2 separate regions of the Homo sapiens genome follow, and region 2 is linked to region 1. Evidence: promoter capture Hi-C in human tissues and cell types (Jung and others, 2019). All regions are on one chromosome and are shown on one strand. The core of a region is centred on a gene start or on the middle of the fragment in contact, and the rest is flanking DNA. Distances in the headings are between cores, read along the strand shown.

Evidence for each region. The method cuts DNA at HindIII sites, captures the fragments that hold promoters and counts their contacts. A contact is called where the count stands out against the background at its distance.
Region 2: a fragment that was not itself captured here is called in contact with the fragment with the promoter of ERVFRD-1 in region 1 in 1 of the 25 tissues and cell types used here (dorsolateral prefrontal cortex).

Annotation. Positions count from the first base shown.
Region 1 is chr6:11,107,945-11,113,826 of GRCh38, reverse strand. It overlaps ERVFRD-1 (endogenous retrovirus group FRD member 1, envelope), which reads left to right and starts at 2,102. Exons shown (of 2, transcript NM_207582.3): 1 at 2,102-2,150. The region is part of intron 1 of SMIM13 (small integral membrane protein 13); the gene reads right to left. The HindIII fragment of the contact is 12,472 bases long and covers 1-5,882 here.
Region 2 is chr6:11,301,351-11,307,232 of GRCh38, reverse strand. LOC105374925 (a long non-coding RNA gene) reads right to left here. Exons shown (of 6, transcript XR_001743967.2): 2 at 1,788-1,935; 3 at 1,554-1,685; 4 at 1,051-1,218. It also overlaps a transcript of NEDD9 not described here. Among named protein-coding and RNA genes, the nearest start is that of NEDD9, 72 kb to the right of the region's middle. The HindIII fragment of the contact is 3,514 bases long and covers 2,009-5,522 here.

The sequences.
Region 1 (5,882 bases), core at 853-3,352:
GATGGGTGGACCACCTGAGATCAGGAGTTCGAAACCAGCCTGGCCAACATGGTGAAACCCTGCCTCTACTAAAAATACAAAAATTAGCTAGGTATGGTGGCACATGCCTGTAATTCCCAGCTACTGGGGAGACTGAAACAGGGCAACCTTTTGAACCCAGGAGGCGGGGGCTGCAGTGAGCCAAGATTGTGCCACTGTACTCCAGCCTGGGCAACAAAGCAAGACTCCATCTCAAAAAAATAAAAATAAAAAGGCAAGCTACAGAATAGAAGAAAATACTTGCAAAACATATCTGATAAAAACAAACAAAAAAAACTTGTATCCAGAATAAAGAATTGTTTACAACTTGATAAAAGTAACACAATTTTTTAAATGAGTAGAAAAAACTTGTAAAGATGATTTACACAGAAGGTAGAAAGAATGGCAAATAACACATAAAAGATGCTGAAAATAATTAGTCATTAATGAAACAAAAATCAAAAGCATAATACCCATCCTCTAGAATGGCTAAATTAAAAACAGACAATACCATCAAATGTTGGTGATGGATGCGGAGTAACAAATTCTCACTCATGACTGCTGGCAATGCAAATGTTTGGCAGTTTCTCAAGAGAAATGAAGTTACTCAAGAGAAATGAAAACATATGTCTACACCAAGATTTGCAACTGAATGTTAATAATACTACTAACTACTAATACTACTACTACAGGCTCACGCCTGTAATCCCAACACTTTGGGAGGCCCAGGCGGGTGGATTACTTGAGGTCAGGAGTTCGAAACCAGCCTGGCCAACATGGTGAAACCCCGTCTCTACTAAAAATACAAAAAAATATATAATAAAATAAAATAAATTAGCCAGGCATGGTGGCAGGTGCCTATAATCCCAGCTACTTGGGAGGCTGAGGCAGGAGAATTGCTTGAACCCAGGAGGCAAAGGTTGCAGTGAGCCAAGATCATACCACTGCACTCCAGCTTGGGCGACAGAGCAAGACCCCATCTCAAAAAAATAAATAAATAAAACAATAATAATACTAACAGCCAAAAGCTGGAAACCACTCTCATGTCCATCAATGAGTAAATGGATAAACAAATTGTGGTATATCTATACAATGGAATACTCTTTCAGCAATACAAAAGAATGTATTACTGATATACACAACACAAATAGATTTCAAAAGCATTATGCTAGCAGAAAGAAGTCAAACACAAAAAGCATGTTGTGTGATTTGATTTACATTAGAAAGGTAAATTTATGTTTATGGAAAGCAGTTTGGGCCAGGTGTGGTGGTTCATGCCTGTAATCCCAGCACTTTGGGAGGCCAAGGACAGCAGATCACTTGAGGTCAGGAGTTCAAGATCAGCCTGGCCACCATGGTGAAATCTTGTCTCTACTAAAAATACAAAAATTAGCTGGGCATGGTGGTGCACACCTGTTAATTCCAGCTATTCAGGAGTCTGAGGCACAAGAATCACTTGAACCCGGGAGGTGGAGGTTGCAGTGAGCCAAGATTGCATCACTGCACTCCAGCCTGGGAGACAGAGCGAGGCTGTCTCCAAAAAAAAAAAAGCAAGCAGTTCTATCAGGAGGCCATTAGGTTAAGCTGGTTCTGTTAGAGTAGGTAGTCAGGCAGACATGAGCAGGGCAGGAGAGGGCCCCCAGCTCAGGAATGTCAGGCGACCATCAGGTGATGATCAGGCGGTTGTTACACTGTTTCTCTAAAATAATAATAATGGGTTGCAGCCAGTACCAGGGAAAGACAGTCTCCCAAAAGACAGGAAACACCGGAAGCTGGTGATCAGCAACTTCCTGATAAGATCTCCGAAGCTGGGCAAGTGGGCTCAAGCATGCGCACTAAGAAGCAAAATGACAGTTTAACCAGTATGTGACCTTCCTCTAGGAACACCTGACTGATAAGGGAAAAATGTCTCAAGAAAGCATGCGCACAACTTCAGTAAACAAATGCACATGTGGCTCCTCCCAAGTGCTGACAGGCCACTGCACAGCAGACAGCCCACCCCAAGGAAAAAAATCCAAGGAGGAGAAATGGAAACCCCGGAACCATGCCGATGTATAAAACCCCAAGTCAAGGGCTGAACAGGGCACTTGGATCTCTCAAATGGTGCAGTGACTCGGATACCTTCCCTAGTGGTAAGACACCTCTACGCCTTGCCTTCTTCGGCTGGAGGCGTTCAACCCTCGTACGTGGTTTCGTTCTCCTCTTTCACTCTCCTGCTTACTAACCTACCCCTGGAACGATTCCTCTCAACCACAGTGGCTCTGCTCCCCCTGGCTGCTCTCTCTGCTCACCCCGAAGGATGGCTTGCAGGGGTGGGAAGGACCTTGGAGTCTGCACTAAGTAGACCTGAGACACTAATGGCCCCCCCAGACAGGAGGCTGATGAGAGCGGTAGGGCTAAAACCTACAACCATGTAGTATCTGGGGTTTCCTCTGCTTTTTCAACTAAAATCAGCTCTTTCCCAAAAACCCACCACCACCTATTTTCCTTTCTCTGTATGTATTCCAAAATGACCTCGCACACCCATTGGACCAACTGCCTTGGGGGTAAGTCTGTCTTTTCTCTGTTCTTACTTTGCATGCCCTGCAACTTTCTTCTCTGCCTTAAACACACATTCCCTATTTGTTATTCATGCACCCGCAGCTCTTGCTGTGTTAGCCTGGCAACCAAGAGATGGACTCCCTTACGGATGTCCCTTGATATTTATACTTGTTACCCTACCAGCTCGGATGACCTCCAACCCTTTCCCTGTCTGTTGGCTCACTGCCGGGATAGACACTAATCAGAACCTTAGCTCTGTCAGCTCCTTATGACTTACCATATGCTTTTCATCCCTGTTATGCTCCAGGGCCATGTTTCTCCCTGGCTTTTGAATGGTTTGCTTGCTTGCATAGGACCTCACTCTGTAGCCCTTAAGGACCCCACCCACTCGCTTTTTTTCTGAGTTAGCACCCCTTTGTGGGGAAGGAAAATTCTCTGCCGTTTGCAGGGTCTTATCCCAAACACCAAGTCCTCCAGAGGTTCCTCCTTTATATCAAGAGGGCAAATAAACGTTGCCCTCTCAAATCCAAGGGCTGCTGTTTCTGCAAACATATGAAGGCTTTCCATGAGTATTCCTCTTGCTTCCTCCCGCTTTCTCCTGTAGCAGAGGGATTGTTCTACCTCGTTAAGCATTTGTTCTGCATGTTACCCTGGGAGGATGAAGAATCCCAAATACAAATTTTCCTCCATTCCTCTAATCACCTCCAGGCCCTTCTCAATATGTATCAGGACCTTCAAAGTTATATTTGAAGGGAGAGAAGTCCAGCCCCCTTGCAGCAATTGGCAGAAAAACAGGCTTCTCGTCTTCTTAAAGAACATGGGAAATGAGAATCTGAGAAGAGATAATCATTCTGTTGCTAGAATGCTCTGAACAAGGGTCACTATAAGGTCATGGAGACAAGGATATAGGACAGCCCAAGGAGGCAGATGCAAGAGACCAAAGTACCCATAGAACAGAGATGAAGACTAGTTCCAGGCTACAAACACAAAACAGATTACCACTGCAACACAGATGAAGGCTGGTCCAGAAATGGGATGGGATCAGGGTAGGGGTACCCAGTAAACACTGGGTTCATTCCAGAACCCCTTGGATGAGTGGGAGGGCACCCTGTTCACTGTAGTCTGCCATAGGCACAGGATTAAGAGAACAAGGGGAGATGCCCTCTTCTCGCCTCTGTTCTTTCTTTACAAACGGGTAATTGTGCCTCAATAAAACAAGATGGGACCAAGGTTAGGGGTACCTGGTAAGCACTGGTTCATTCTGGAACCCCTAGAATGAATGGGGGACACTGCCATACGCAAAGGAAAAATGGATGAATGGGGTAATGCCCTACCCACTCTGGTCTGCTGTAAGTTCAGGAAAAAGACAGTAGGGAAATTGGAGGGGTTGCCTTCTTTTTCTCTTCTCTCCTCTGTTCTCTCTGTGGACAGGTAATCAAGTCTCTGTACCACAGGACACACTACTAGGATACATCCTCAAGAACTGGGAAAAGTTTGACTCCCAAACCCTAAAAAGGAAAAGGCTAATATTTTTCTGTAATACAGCCTGGGTTGAATAAAAGCTCTAGGACCAGGAATCTTGGCCAGAAAATAGAAGCACAAATTTAAATATGATCCATCAACTAGATTTGTTTTGCTACCACCAGGGAAAATGGACAGAAATCCCCTATGTGCTGGCCTTCATGGCCCTAAGAAACAACCCTGACCTTTGTTGGGCTTGTAAAACAGATCCATGGCCATAGTCATGCAGCCCCTTCCCATTGGTTCAGAAGGCCCCTCATCAGGTTTACCCAGAGCTCAAGCCCCATTGCCCCTTCTACCCAATTATATCGAAGTCTCCCAGAAGCCTTCTCCTCCCTACCCAGGGCCATCCTCTGGACACCACCTCCTTAAGTTATGCCCCATTCAGGAGGTTTAGTGGTCCCAGTGGACCCACTGGAGTCCAGACTCCATTCACTGTGCAAGACCTGAGCCAAATTAAAATGGAACTAGGGAAGTTTATGGAGGACCCTGACAAATATATCAAAGTGTTTTATAAACTGGGCTTAACATCTGAACTCACCAGGAGGGACCTCTCAGTCATACTAGGGCAAACTCTGCCTAAGGGAGAATGTGACTCCATTATGGTGGCGGTCCAACAATTTGCAAACACAATGCACATGCCTGACACTGGTGGCTACCCTGTGGGGGCCACCATAGTTCCCCAGGTCAACCCCAATTGGGATTACAATATCCAGGGGAGTACATGAGCAAGGACCCACATGTTCCTCTATCTGATAGAAGGAATGAAAGCTAGCAGAGCAAAGCCTGTGAACTGTAATAAATTGGGCTTGACAGATCAAGGGCCTTATGAAAACCTCACCATTTTCTTAGACAGGCTAGAAGAGGCCCTAGTGAAACACACTAACCTAGACCCAGACCCACTAGAAGGACAACTGTTCATAAAGGATCATTTCCCTAACTCAAACAACACCAGATATTAGGAGGAAACACCAGAAACTAGCACTGGATCCCAGTACCCCTATGCCTGACATCTGCAAAGTAGGTTCCTTGGTCTTTTACAACCAAAACCAGGAGGAGTAGGAAAGGGCTCAAGAAAAGGAGAGGCAAAAGGAAAAGCAACAGCTCCAACTACTGACTGCCCTGCAAACCTGCCAGCCACCTCTGGCAGGCCCCAGGGAGATCCCTTTGCCCAAATGCTACTTCTGTGGGGAGCCAGGCCACACAAGAAGGCAGTGCCCAAACTGATGGGGACACCCACCCCCAGCTCTCCATGCTCCAATTGCCACAATCTTGGCCACTGGGAAACAGGACTACCCTGAAAGCTGAAAGGCCCTCAGGACATCCCAACTGGATGACCTTCAGCTCCTTGAGCTGAAGGGGGCCCTACGCTCCACTTGGCTCCTGGATTAAATAACACTATTGAAGGGACAGAGCCAAGGGCTGCCTTGGATGTGCCCAGTAGGACTGTAAGTTTTCTTTTGGACATGAGGGCTGCCTGCTCAATGCTTACCTCTTTTCCCAGGCAATTATCCTCCTGGGAGGATATGAAGTGCCCGTAACCTGGAGGTTTACTCCTCCTCTGTGCTGTCTCTGGGGGAAAACCGTCTTTTCTCATTCATTTTTAGTGATGCCAGAATACCCTACATACCTTTTGGGTAGAGATATTTTGCTCAGACTAGGGGCTCAGTTAACCTTTCCTCCAGGGCCAACACCCCCTTTTTCAAATGCAATCTTATGCCTCAAGGAAACCATACACAAGGATGAACTGTTCACAGACCTTCCCATTTATCCAGAGGTCTGGGCCTCAGGAATAACAGGAA
Region 2 (5,882 bases), core at 2,516-5,015, 190 kb before region 1:
GAAAGGAGTTCTAGGAGGACTTCTCTTCCTCCTAAGGGCAGCTGCATAGGTTCATTAATTTTTTTGCTGAGCTTCTATTATGTGCCAGACACTCTTCTTATTTTTCTGCTTCCCCTTTTAAAACAACCTCTTACTTATTCTTGATAGGAAAACACTGTCCTTTTACAAAGATTCACATTACCAATTCTCAAAAAGATATTCACGTGCCCCGTGTGGTTTAAATATCAGGGTTTTTCTAAGGATATATACCCCAACTATAGCCTACAAATACATACACATACATACACACACACCATCTCAAAACAGCCTTACAGCTGCAAGATATTGAAAGAGAGTGAAAAATTGGCCAGTACTAACTCACCGAAAGCCCAGTCCATGTTTTTCCCAAAAAATCAAATTCTGGGCTTTGCATCTAAGCTATTTAAAAGCCACATTTCCAAAACACTAGTTTTTCTCCTTTTCTGGAAACAAGAAAAGCATATGGCTCCAGTGACCTTCACAAGCTGCTGGTAAGAGGTAGAGTCAGGCACATCTTGTGGCTTCAAAATGATAAAAGTGGTAACATATTAAGTTGGTATAAAGGGGGATGGTGGGGCCTCAGGGATGGGAGAGTAGAAAACAATCAATGAAATCAATGACAAGACTAAAACTGTAGGTTATAGGCAAGGAAATTTCACTCTCACCTCTACTATCCATACAAAACATCTGGCAAACGTCTACCCATCTCTCAAGACTCCACCCAAGATTGACCTTCCTTTGTGCCCTCACCAGACCCACTGCACATTTGACCCGAAATGATGTAACATTTTATTGTGCTGTATTTTTGTTTGTTCAGTGAGACTGTGGGATCCTTGAGGACAGGACTATATTTTATGTGTCTTTGAAGTTCCAACTAAAGCATAGTAAGAACCCCATAAATGCTTTCTTTGATTGCATGAATGAATGGATGATGGATTCCATTCACAAGACTATGGATTTGGCTTTTCCAGCTGCTATGATGCAACCCTTAAATGATGAAAAGCATCTCAATTTTTTTCAGATCTTACCAACCTTTCCATCTCTATCTCCTGTTTTCAGATTCAGTAAGCTGTGAGGTCCGTAATGTCAGACACTGGCAAACATCATATGTTCTTCAAGTAGAGTTATGAAAACGAAGAAACTGGTCAGAAGAGTAAAACGCCGGAATTGTCCTTTCCAACATCCAGAGCTGCATCATTCCTTGGGGCAAAATGTGGACAAGGGTGAGTACTGATAGAAAAAAACAGACAATTTGTGATTCCCCTTTTTCCAGTTTGCTCAGCCTAAATTCTCTGCAATAATAATACAAATCATGTTTTTTTGTCATACGGGCCTGCAACTAACATTTGGGGAAAATACTGTTAAGTTTAGACTGCCAGATTTTGCTGTTAGGTGAATTTTTTACATGGATGCACTGATGCCCACAGGGCATCCTATTCCATCCAGAAATCTCTGGGGAAGCAGTCTTCTGGGATGCAGATAGATTATTCCACTTAACATAATGGTGCCCGAGCAAGCCTGGAAGTTACACTCACTGAACTATTCATTCAGAAGCTGATTGCCCACGTTTGGAAATAGCCAGTTCTTGGTGCCTTGTTTCTCTGTTTGCCAGTCACCTTCAACCATTCAACTTCCATTCGGCCATTCCTCAAGAAAATCAAGTTGGCCTGGAGTAGAGTGTAGGATGAAAATAATCAATTTTTCTATCTAACCAAGGCTTCCTAAAGGTTTTATGAAAATTCAGTAGAAGAAATGATATGTAATTTTACCTATTAGTTGGCCTCTAAAAGAGGCAGGCATCATCGCATGGCATAGTGGCATTGAGGGTCACAAAGATCTGAATTTTGGTCCTTGCTTTTCTGTTTAGTAGTAGAGTTGACCTGGAGCCAGTGACCTGACCCTTTTGAATCTCTGTTTCTGTGTTTATAAAATGGTGACAGGAAGATTGTTCAGAGGATGAAATGAGAAAATGCACATAGAGTAACTCATGCTCAAAATGAAAAAAGGTAAATTCCCTTATCTATTGAGATCGATCAACTGTTTTCTGTATCTCAGAGAATCAACCATCAACTGCACACAAATAAAAAAGCTCTGGGCACCGTATCAAGCCAAGAACAGCCCAATCTCCTTTCTGGGCAAACGTTCCAAGGTAAATATAATAAGAAATGCTTTCTTTAAATAATTTGATAAGTAACAAAAGGATTTCCCTGGAAGGCATTAAAAACAAGTTTGATTGTCATATCACTGTGGGTTTTTTTAATTATATTTTAAGTTCTAGGGTACATGTGCAAAACGTGCAGGTTTGTTACATAGGTATACATGTGCCATGTGGGTTTGCTGCACCCATCAATTCATCATTTACATTAGGTATTTCTCCTAATGCTATATCTCCCCCAGGCCCCCACCCACTGACAGGCCCCGGTGTGTGAGGTTCCCCACCCTGTGTCCATGTGTTCTCATTGTTCAACTCCCACCTATGAGTGAGAACATGCAATGTTTGGTTTTCTGTCCTTGTGATAGTTTGCTTAGAATGATGGTTTCCAGCTTTATCCATGTCCCTACAAAGGACATGAACTCATCCTTTTTTATGACTGCATAGTATTCCATGGTGTATATGTGCCACATTTTCTCAATCCAGTCTATCATTGATGGATATTTGGGTTGGTTCCAAGTCTTTGCTATTGTGAATAGTGCCCCAATAAACATACGTGTGCATGTGTCCTTATAGTAGCATGATTTATAATCCTTTGGGTATATACCCAGTAATGGGATGGCTGGGTCAAATGGTATTTCTAGTTCTAGATCCTTGAGGAACCGCCACATTGTCTTCCACAATGGTTGAACCAGTTTACACTCCCACCAACAGTGTAAAACCCTTCCTATTTCTCCACATCCTCTCCAGCATCTGTTGTTTCCTGACTTTTTAATGATGGCCATTCTAACTGGTGTGAGATAGTATCTCTTTGTGGTTTTGATATGCATTTCTCTGATGACAAGTGATGAGCATTTTTTCATATGTCTGTTGGCTGCATAAATGTCTTCTTTTGAGAAGTGTCTGTTCATATCCTTTGCCCACTTTTTGATGGGGTTGTTTGTTTATTTCTTGTAAATTTGTTTAAGTTCTTTGTAGATTCTGAATATTAGCCCTTTTTCAGATGGGTAGACTGCAAAGATTTTCTCCCATTCTGTAGGCTGCCTGTTCACTCTGATGGTAGTTTCTTTTGCTGTGCAGAAGCTCTTTAGTTTAATTAGATCCCATTTGTCTATTTTGGCTTTTGTTGCCATTGCTTTTGGTATTTTAGTCATGAAGTCCTTGCCCATGTCTATGTCCTGAATGGTATTGCCTAGGTTTTCTTTTAGGATTTTTACAGTGTTAGGTCTTACATTTAAGTATTTAATGCTTCTAGTTAATTTTTATATACGGTGTAAAGAAGGGATCCAGTTTCAGCTTTCTACATATGGCTAGCCAGTTTTCCCAGCACCATTTATTAGATAGGGAACCCTTTCAATATTGCTTGTTTTTTTCAGGTTTGCCAAAGTTCAGATGGTTGTAGATGTGTGATGTTATTTCTGAGGCCTCTGTTCTGTTCCATTGATCTATATATCTGTTTTGGTACCAGTACCATGCTGTTTTGGTTACTCTAGCTTGTAGTATAGTTTGAAGTCAGGTAGCGGGATGCCTCCAGCTTTGTTCTTTTAAGTAGTTTTTTCCAATTACGTAAAGAAAGTCAGGTAGCTTGATGGCGATGACACTGAATCTATAAATTACCTTGGAAAGTATGGACGTTTTCATAATATTGATTCTTCCTATCCATGAACATGGAATGTTCTTCCATTTGTTTGTGTCCTCTTTTATTTCATTGAGCAGTGGTTTGTAGTTCTCCTTGAAGAGTTCCTTCACGTCCCTTGTAAGTTGGATTCCCAGGTATTTTATTCTTTTTGTAGTAATTGTGAATGGGAGTTCACTAATGATTTGGCTCTCTGTTTGTCTATTATTGGTGTATAGGAATGCTTGTGATTTTTGCACATTGATTTTGTATCCTGAAACTTTGCTGAAGTTGCTTATTAGCTTAAGGAGATTTTGGGCTGAGACAATGGGGTTTTCTAAATATACAATCATGTCATCTGCAAGCAGGGACAATTTGACTTCCTCCTTTCCTAATTGAATACCCTTTATTTCTTTCTCTTACCTGATTTCCCTAGCCAGAACTTCCAACACTATGTTGAATAGGAGTGGTGAGAGAGGGCATCCCTGTCTTGTGCCGGTTTTCAAAGGGAATGCTTCCAGCTTTTGTCCATTCAGTATGATATTGGCTGTGGGTTTGTCATAAATAGCTCTTATTATTTTGAGATACGTTCCACCAATACCTATTTTATTGAGAGTTTTTAGCATGAAGCGCTGTTGAATTTTATCGAAGGCCTTTTCTGCATCTATTGAGATGATCATGTGGTTTTTGTCATTGGTTCTGTTTATGTGATGGATTACATTTACAGATTTGTGTATGTTGAACCAGCCTTGCATCCCAGGGATGTAGCCAATGTGATCGTGGTGGATAAGCTTTTTGATGTGCTGCTGGATTCGGTTTGCCAGTATTTTATTGAGGATTTTTGCATCAATGTTCATCAGGGATATGGCCTAAAATTATCTTTTTTTGTTGTGTCTCTACCAGGCTTTGGTATCAGGATGATTCTAGCCTCATAAAATGAGTTAGGGAGGATTCCCCTTTTTTCTATTGATTGAAATAGTTTCAGAAGGAATGGTACCAGCTCCTCTTTGTACCTCTGGTAGAATTCAGCTGTGAATCTGTCTGGTCCTGGACTTTTTTTGGTTGGTAGGCTATTAATTATTGCCTCAATTTCAGAGCCTGTTATTGGTCAATCCAGAGATTCAATTTCTTCCTGGTTTAGTCTTGAGAGAGTGTATGTGTCCAGGAATTTATCCATTTCTTCTAGATTTTCTAGTTTATTTGCATAGAGGTGTTTATAGTATTCTCTGATGGTAGTTTGCATTTCTGTGGGATCAGTGGTGATATCCCCTTTATCATTTTTTATTGCATCTATTTGATTCTTCTCTCTTTTCTTTTTTATTGGTCTTGCTAGCAGTCTATCTATTTTGTTGATCTTTTTAAAAAAACAGCTCCTGGATTCATTGATTTTTTGAAGGGTTTTTTGTGTCTCTCTCTCCTTCAGTTCTGCTCTGATCTTTGTTATTTCTTGCCTTCTGCTAGCTGTTGAATTTGTTTGCTCTTGCTTCTCTAGTTCTTTTAATTGTGATGTTAGAGTGTCGATTTTAGATCTTTCCTGCTTTCTCTTGTATGCATTTAGTGCTATAAATTTCCCTCTACACACTGCTCTAAATGTATCCCAGAGATTCTGGTGTGTTGCATCTTTTTTCTCATTGGTTTCAAAGAACATCTTTATTTCTGCCTTCATTTCGTTACTTACCCAGTAGTCATTCAGGAGCATGTTGTTCAGTTTCCATGTAGTTGTGTGGTTTTGAGTGGGTTTATTAATCCTGAGTTCTAATTTGATTGCACTGTAGTCAGGGAGAGTTTGTTGTGGTTTCTGTTCTTTTACATTTGCTGAGGAGTGCTTTACTTCCAACTAAGTGGTCAATTTTAGAATAAGTGCAATGTGGTGCTGAGAAGAATGTATATTCTGTTGATTTGGGGTGGAGAGTTCTGTAGATGTCTATTAGGTCTACTTGGTGCAGAGCTGAGTTCAAGCCCTCGATATCCTTGTTAACCTTCTGTCTCATTGATCTGTCTAATACTGACAGTGGGGTTTTAAAGTCTCCCATTATTATTGTGTGGGAGTCTAAGTCTCTTTGTAGATCTCTAAGGACTTGCTTTATGAATCTGGTT